2 separate regions of the Homo sapiens genome follow, and region 1 is linked to region 2. The links are contacts of gene promoters, found by promoter capture Hi-C in blood cells and fetal thymus (Javierre and others, 2016). All regions are on one chromosome and are shown on one strand. Each heading gives the region's core, a stretch centred on a gene start or on the middle of the fragment in contact. The rest is flanking DNA. Distances are from core to core; before and after follow the strand shown.

Region 1 (3,643 bases), core at 554-3,053, 5.1 Mb after region 2:
GAAAGTGGACTTTCACAAGAAGGGAGAAGCAGAGCTTCCCTGATTATTTTGATTTTGTTGTTGTTGTTGTTTTGTTTTGTTTTGAGACGCAGTCTCGCCGAGACACCCAGGCTGGAGTGTCATGGCGCGATCTCGGCTCACTGCAACCTCTGCTTCCCAGGTTCAAGCGATTCTCCTGCCTCAGCCTCCCGAGTAGCTGGGACTGCAGGCGCGTGCCACGACACCTGGCTAACTTTTTTTTGTATTTTTAGTAAAGACAGTTTCACCATATTGGCCAGGCTGATCTCGAACTCCTGATCTCAAGTGATCCGGTGGCCTTGGGCTCCCAAAGTGCTGAGATTACAGGCGTGAGCTACCACACCCAGCCTTTTTTTCTCCCCCCACATTGGAGGAAGAGTTTAACCTTGAAGGGCTTGTAGAGTCAGATAACTGTCACTTGTTATTTAAAGTTATAGATAGTAGGCAAAAGCTTTCAAGCCACTGAAAAAGAATAATGCTTGTTTTCTTTGATGGATTGTTAGGTAGCATATATAATGTGCTGTATTTAACACCTGTCCTTTTTCTTTCCACCCATCCAAGGCGTCAAAGGCCATCTTAAATCCCGGCTCCTCAGGAAATCATCCCCAAACACACCAGCTGGAATTGATATTTTTCTTTTCCAAATTCCTATGTAAATTCATGTCATTTATTTGGAATTGCTTATAGAGAGTTTCAGAGCGTTAAAGAACTGGAAAGGACCTAGGATTCAATACAATTCTCTCATCTCGCAGACGAAGAAAATGAAGTGCAGAGGAGCTACGCAATCTACGTAAGTCACATAGACACACATTGGAGGCTATGAACCTAGTTTGCCCAATTCCCACTGCAGTCCATTGGTTTATGCCTCTATGCCTTCAGATTTACGGTCTGGTATTGCTGGTTATCTTCTCAAGAGAACATGACATCTCAACAATAGTACATATAGAGATCAGGGAACTTTCAATTCTTCGTTACTTCTTCAGCTCATAATTTATATGCATTAAATGTCGGATAATTTACTGGAGACTAACTGGCTGTGTTTTAGGTAATGATTACATCTATTAATCTATTACTTCGTAAATCCTCAAGTTCAGAAGGTAACACTGGAAGGGGCCAAGGAGGTAGGAATAAAGCAGCAGCAAGGTAAATAGTAAGAGCTGATGACCACAATCAGAATGTTAAGCTAAGTTTAGAGTGGAAGGTCATTTTCCCAGGAGCAATTACACTTGCAGTTTTATCCTGCAAGGATGAAAAGTGTATGTTTGTTGTACGAGAGCGGAAGGGTGCCGAAGTTCATGTGAAGTTCTGCAAACCAAAGCCTGATGAGGATTTCCGCCGGGTGGGACAGGTTTAAGAGGACGAACTCATGAGAAAGAAGTCTGAGCCCAAACCCCAGAAGCCGGCCAGGAAGGTGTAAAGGGTGGGCCGAAGCCAGGGCAGAAGAACCCAAGCAGAAGGTTGAGCACGAGGTGGCTGCGCCGTCATCCGGGCGTTGCCCGGGGGCTACGTCGGACCGCGGTGGGCGCCGGGGGGGCGTGGCCGGCCAGCCCAGGGCGGGGCGGTGGCGCGGGTTCTCCAGGCCAACACGCGGCGGCGCACCCTCCCTCGCGCCGCGGGCCTCCCCGCGCCGTGCACGTCCTCGTCCCGCGCCTCCGCCCCTCGCTCGCTCGCTCCTTCCCGCCCTCCCCGCAGCGCCGGCCGAGCCGGCTTCCCCTCAGTCTCTCATGAATATTGAGCGGCCCCTGTTGTATTTCCCGAGCTCCATTGCGGAAGCTGAGGCTCGCCATATTGTGCGGCGGCGCCGGCGTCCGCGGCAGCTGATACCAGAGTCTTGCTCCGGCCGCGGCCAGCGGAGCCCTGGGCTGGGGCAGGAGCCGGTGAGTGGGGCGGGCGGGGAGGCGAAGGACGCGGAAGCAGCGGGCCGGGACACGCGTCTACTCGGCAGCGTTGCAGGCGACTGACGGGGGCCCCGGAGTGTGGGGGGGGTGTGTGTCCGCGGGGGTGTGAAGGGACATGGCGCCGCCGCCGCCCCCGGCCGCTCTCGCGGCGGAGACGGCGGGTGAAGCGGGTTCTCATTGTTCCCGTGTCTTCGAGGGTCGTGGGAGGGAAGGGAGCTGGTTTGCGGAGGACCCAGTCAGCGAAGCGCCGGGATTCCTTCCTTCGCCGCGAGCCTTTCGCTGCCCTTTCCTCTGCGCGGAGGCCGGCGCTGCGGCGCGGTCCCCTCGCCTCCGGGGGCGGGGGCCCCAGCCTCTCTGCAGCCCTACTCCGGAGGCGGACGGAGTGGAATGCGAGTTTTTTCTCTGGGCTTTCGCCTCGCAGCTAGGGATGTGTGTCTGCATCGTGGGGGTGGGGTAGGGGGCACTTTGTGCAGATATCGCTCCTTCCTTCTGGGGGGTCGGAGTCGGGGTTCCAGTGTAGAGGAGCTCCTCGACCTCGGGGTTCCTCGGGGAGACCCCTTCAGCTTCACACATTCCTGGAGTGCCGCCTCCTGCTCTGGAGTATCTGTTGCTGCTTTCTAAAACCGTGAGCTTACCCAGGAGGAGTCGTGGGGGGAGGGGGTGTCTTGGTTAGTTTCTGCGGGAAGATTCGCGTTTTGAACCGTGTCGTTTACGCTGAGATGCTAGTACCCACTTTTGCCGGGAGCCCACGTCCTGCTGGTCAGAATCGTTTACCTTCTACAGAAGTCTCCTTCTTGCTTTCAGAGATGGTGTTAGTAAAAATTGATCTCAAACTTTGAGGTTCATTCCAGTTATTTGCCCGCTAAGATCAATTATAGACTCATCTATTTGAAGCCCCTTTGGGTATCTTTTTCGAGGCTGTCGGAAGTTTTAGAGAATGTAACTTTACATTGTAAAATGATTTGAAGATGTCAGGTTTCTTTGAAGTGCCGTGAAAAGGATATACATATGCACTCAGTATTTTAGTAATACGCTGTTTTTCAATTAAAAAAATTAAGGCATGGTTTCAGTGTTCTAAACCGAGGATATGTTTAAAACGAATGTACGAGCGATTTGCATTACATAATCTACTTTTGGTAATTCCAAGATGATCAGCTGGAATACTTAGTCTAATTGGTAGCTAATCTATCTGTTTTGTATTAAGTGCAGTTGTTGAATATTCTAATAACTGAGGTGGGTGTGAGAGTTTGCTTCTTATAGTGAAATTTGATCCTTGGATTTATAAAGTATTTAAATAGCAGCAATATGACTCTTGGTTATTCCCTTTTTCCCCTGAAATTTCTACTTTTCACAATCAACAAGTATCTTTAAAAATCTTGATTGTACTCTTAAACTACTTTTTAGCAAAATAATAGGTAGTTATAGGTGACTCCTTTTTCTAGGGGTAGCACAGCAAATATGGTCCCTCACTTTTTGTAAGGATTGTAGTTATTTTCCTCAGGTATCCTTGTGGCATCCACATTTGAGGTTAATTATAGTAGAGGCAGATTTACGAAGAAAAATTGCCCGAGTCAGGCCAATCCGTTTGAGTATTTGAAAAATAAGCTAGTTGTCCTAAAGTGTGTTGCATAGAAAAATTTCCAGTTACAATCACTAACATAATGTAGACCATGCAGACTTTCAAAATACTGGGAATTTGGAGTTTTTCTCTGCCTGTGTGAAGCTCC
Region 2 (3,769 bases), core at 293-2,792:
TTCTTTCTTTTTTTTTATTTTTTTGAGATGGAGTCTCACTCTGTTGCCCAGGCTGGAGTGCAGTGGTGCGATCCCGGCTCACTGCAACCTCCGCCTCGCAGGTTCAAGCGATACTCCTGCCTCCGCCTCCCGAGTAGCTGGGATTACAGGCACCCGCCACCACGCCCGGCTAATTTTTGTATTTTTAGTAGAGACGGGGTTTCACCATCTTGGCCAGGCTGGTCTTGTACTCCTGACCTCGTGATCCACCCGCCTCGGCCCCGCAAAGTGCTGAGATTACAGGCGTGAGCCACTGTGACCGGCCAGTACGTGTTTCTTCGTTTTAAAAAAGTGAGTATATTTAATAAGGTGGTTGTTTACATTCAGTAAAATAGCGCATGAAAAGCATCTAACACAGGGCTTTAAACAGCAAGACTGGGCAAAACCTAAATAACATTTTCCTTATGTTGTCTTTTTTGCTACCACTTGCACCATACGATTACCCACATTTCCTGTCCCCTCCAGTGCAGCTTCCTGGAGACACTTCACACGTATGCAGGACTTCTGTACATCCTACTCAGGCACAGCTGTAGGCCCTACAAAGAGGGACCATTTACTGCCTCCTGCTGTCATTGATATTCGACAAACATTTATTGAGCACCTACAATGTCCTAGTTACTGTGCTAGGCCATTTTGGGGTATAGAGAGATAAAACAGATCTTAAAGTCTTCACGACACTTAAAGATGAGAAACAGTCTCTGGGTAAATAACTATCGGAGTTCAGAAGGTGGACAGAAGTGGTGGGCGGCGAGTCTGTGTGCAGTGAGCACCTAGCGGAAGATGGCATTATTTGCAGAAGAGAGGTCCTTTAAGCCAAGTCTTGATAGATGATTTCACCACGCGGAGATTGGGAAACGAGGACAAAGATATGAGAAGATATGTTGGCCACAGAGAGCCTCTCAAAGCACTGTTAAAGCAAAGCCAATACTTAATGGGAGGAAACTCCGTTTTACTTGCGTGGAGTCTTAAGTCATTAGATGCATGCTAAACAGAACTGTAACCCTCGCGAATAAAACGGCCACAGTGACAGCAGTGGGTAACGGCAGAGCTGCAACTACTCTGACAGGGGTGACGACTTATTTGGACGACAGTTGGTGAAACATTGTAAACTCTCAGAAGCTGCCGTTTCCAGACTTTGAGTTCATTCTTGTCGAATCCCCAGCTTGTTTTCTCAGCCCGGGGTGAAATGCGCAGCCAAAAGGCCCAATGAGCGTCAAAGCGAAAGGGCAGGGGTGGTCTCTTCTGCGGATATACCTTGGCTCCTCCCAAGTCCTACGAGTTTAAACTTCGACGCACCAAACATGGCTTCTTCGCGGTTCTGCTCCTTGTTTTATTTCGCTCCCACCTTTCGGCCACACTCAACATGGCCCTAACCGAAGGTTGGCATGCCTGTGGCACTGTCTCGGGACAGTTCTCGCGAGGTTTGCCTGGGCCCGACTGCTCCCGCCCTGCCTCGCGCCGCCGCCACAGCCGCTGCCGCTGGCGCCGCTCCTCCTCCGTGTCAGTTGTTGGGCTGTAATGGCGACTGGGCCGCCCCTGACGAAGTGACTCCCGGGCCGGGGAGCGGGGCCAGACCTGCGCCAGAGAGAACTGCAGGGAGCCGCAGCTCGGGGGGTGGCTTGCCCTGAGGGAGGGGAGGCAGCCTTTCCGCCTTGTCTTCCTTCCCAGCGGACCGGCGGATCCCCGGAGCCGGTGCGAGGAGGGCACCCGGTGCGTCCCCGGAGCGGGGAGGCCAGGCCGGGCAGCCCTGGGGCCGGTCGGGGCGGCGTCACTGCACCCTCCGCCAGGCTCCGCGGGATGCACCGTGGTAGCCGAGGGCGGAGGCGACACTCTCAGGTGAGCTCCTGTAGGACCTGGCTGGGACCGCGGAGTCTCGCTCAGCCTCAACTGTCTCTGTCCGCGGTCCCGGGTCCCCGGTGGCGGCAAGAGAGGCGGGGCCGGGCGCGGAGAGTCTTGGCCCTGCTTGGCGTCCCCCTCGGGGAACCTCCCTGGGTTCTGAGGCTTTTCGGGGACCTAGGTTTCGGGTCCCACCAGTGCCTGCTGAAGACGGAATTTCCTTCCTTACGTGCCAGTGTCCTCCCGCCTCCTCCACCCCTCCTCTAGCCTGCAGAGGTAAGATACCTCTAGCCTTTGCTGCCCGGAGAAGTGTCCCTTCTTCATCTGGCGATCAGGCGTATTTGGGGAGATTCCGGGGACTGGCTCCAGTGGCAGGGATGATCAGTTTCTGTTCCTTTTCAGTGGGGATCACATTCTCAAGTATAGGGAAAACTTTGATCTACTCTAGTCTAGCGGCTGCTGAAGGTAGTTTATTCACAGATAATTTGGGGAAAGATTTAAAAGGCTTTATGTTTTGGAAGTTGTCAGTATTTTCCTCTGCCTTTTAAATGCAGCTCAACATGCTAAGTAATATTTAGCTAATGTCACAAGATATGAATTGGAATTTGCCTGGATTTTAAATATTCAGATAGAAAGTTGCACATAGGCATAGATTTTAATGTTTTAATGCAGTAGCAAATCCTTCATATGGGAAAAAACAGGTTGTCAGAAATAGTGATCAATATCCATGTACTCCACCTGATTGTTTTGTTTTGATGGTGATCCTTGTTTTGAATTTGGGGAAGTCGTTATTGTTGCCATGTTAACGATACCTCCTGCCCTGTATTTGAAGAGTTTTAAAAGAAAGACTATCTTTGGCAGAGCTAGTAACAATCTGAAAAGTTCTGTAGAAACAATGATAAAATACTAAAAGTTGCCCTCCATTCTGAAAATTTCTTCGTTTAATATATTGTTTTTAAACAAGGAAATGCACTGCTAATGACATGGAATTGTGACTTTGAGGGATTGTTAGACCCATGCTGGAAGTTGCTTCAAAGCCATGGGCGTATAATAATTAGTTTCGGTGTGCTAAATTGACAAATTTTATTTAATGTAATGAAATAAATCTGAATCATTTGAACTGTCAGTGCATTAAATTTAAGATACTGTAATCTGAAAATAAACTTCAAGCTAGAATACATTGTATATGTGGATAAATACATGTGTATCTCTGTATCTCTTCATCCTCAGTAGCAAAATTTTGTGTATGTAGAGATGGCAAGTTGTATATGTAAAAAATTTCATACGTATGTGAACATATTTCTTTGATTTTCTGAGATAAATTGGTGTGTGTGTCATGTAAGAGCGTTAATACTTAAACAGCCAACCTTCTGTGGGGCAATCAATTTATGAATTATAAAGTTTTTGGATTTTTTCCTTCTGCTTCTGATTGTCAGTCTTTTGCCCATTTTATAACACTTCTACCATATATGAGCAGAAGAAAGGAGATGAAGTACTGCTATAATCAATTTTATTTGTTAAATTGCTATAATTTATAGTGGGAGCAAAAAAGAAGTCTAAAATAACTGACATCAGTTTTTGGTGTGCTTCTATATACATTATTTTATTTAGTTTTCACAGTGATCTTGTGAAGTAGGTATGGCAGATATCCTTATTTTGCAGTCGTGGAAACTGACACACAAGGAAGATCATTTATGTGAATGCCTCTCATTTCTGCAGATAATGTGGAATTATTTTTATTTTAAACTAAATATTAATATAGGTGCTCTGGCATTTGGTGTTATTTTAAAATATTAAAAAATTATTCTATTTTTGTTCCTTTTTACATGCCACTTGCCCCTTATGCTGATGATCGTCAGTTCTTTAAAAACATTAGTATTTTTATAACGTTTTG

What was found. Contacts are between HindIII fragments. The CHiCAGO score rates a contact against its expected background, and 5 or more counts as called.
Region 1: a contact is called between the fragment with the promoter of RNF2 here and the fragment with the promoter of CEP350 in region 2, in 1 of 17 cell types (activated CD4 T cells). The highest score is 7.3, in activated CD4 T cells.

The regions. Positions count from the first base shown.
Region 1 is chr1:185,043,755-185,047,397 of GRCh38, forward strand. It overlaps RNF2 (ring finger protein 2), which reads left to right and starts at 1,804. Exons shown (of 7, transcript NM_007212.4): 1 at 1,804-1,895. RefSeq lists a silencer at 1,434-1,693. The HindIII fragment of the contact is 4,610 bases long and covers 468-3,643 here.
Region 2 is chr1:179,953,268-179,957,036 of GRCh38, forward strand. CEP350 (centrosomal protein 350) reads left to right here and starts at 1,543. Exons shown (of 38, transcript NM_014810.5): 1 at 1,543-1,875. RefSeq lists an enhancer at 1,239-1,740 and a silencer at 1,528-1,977. The HindIII fragment of the contact is 10,111 bases long and covers 1-3,769 here.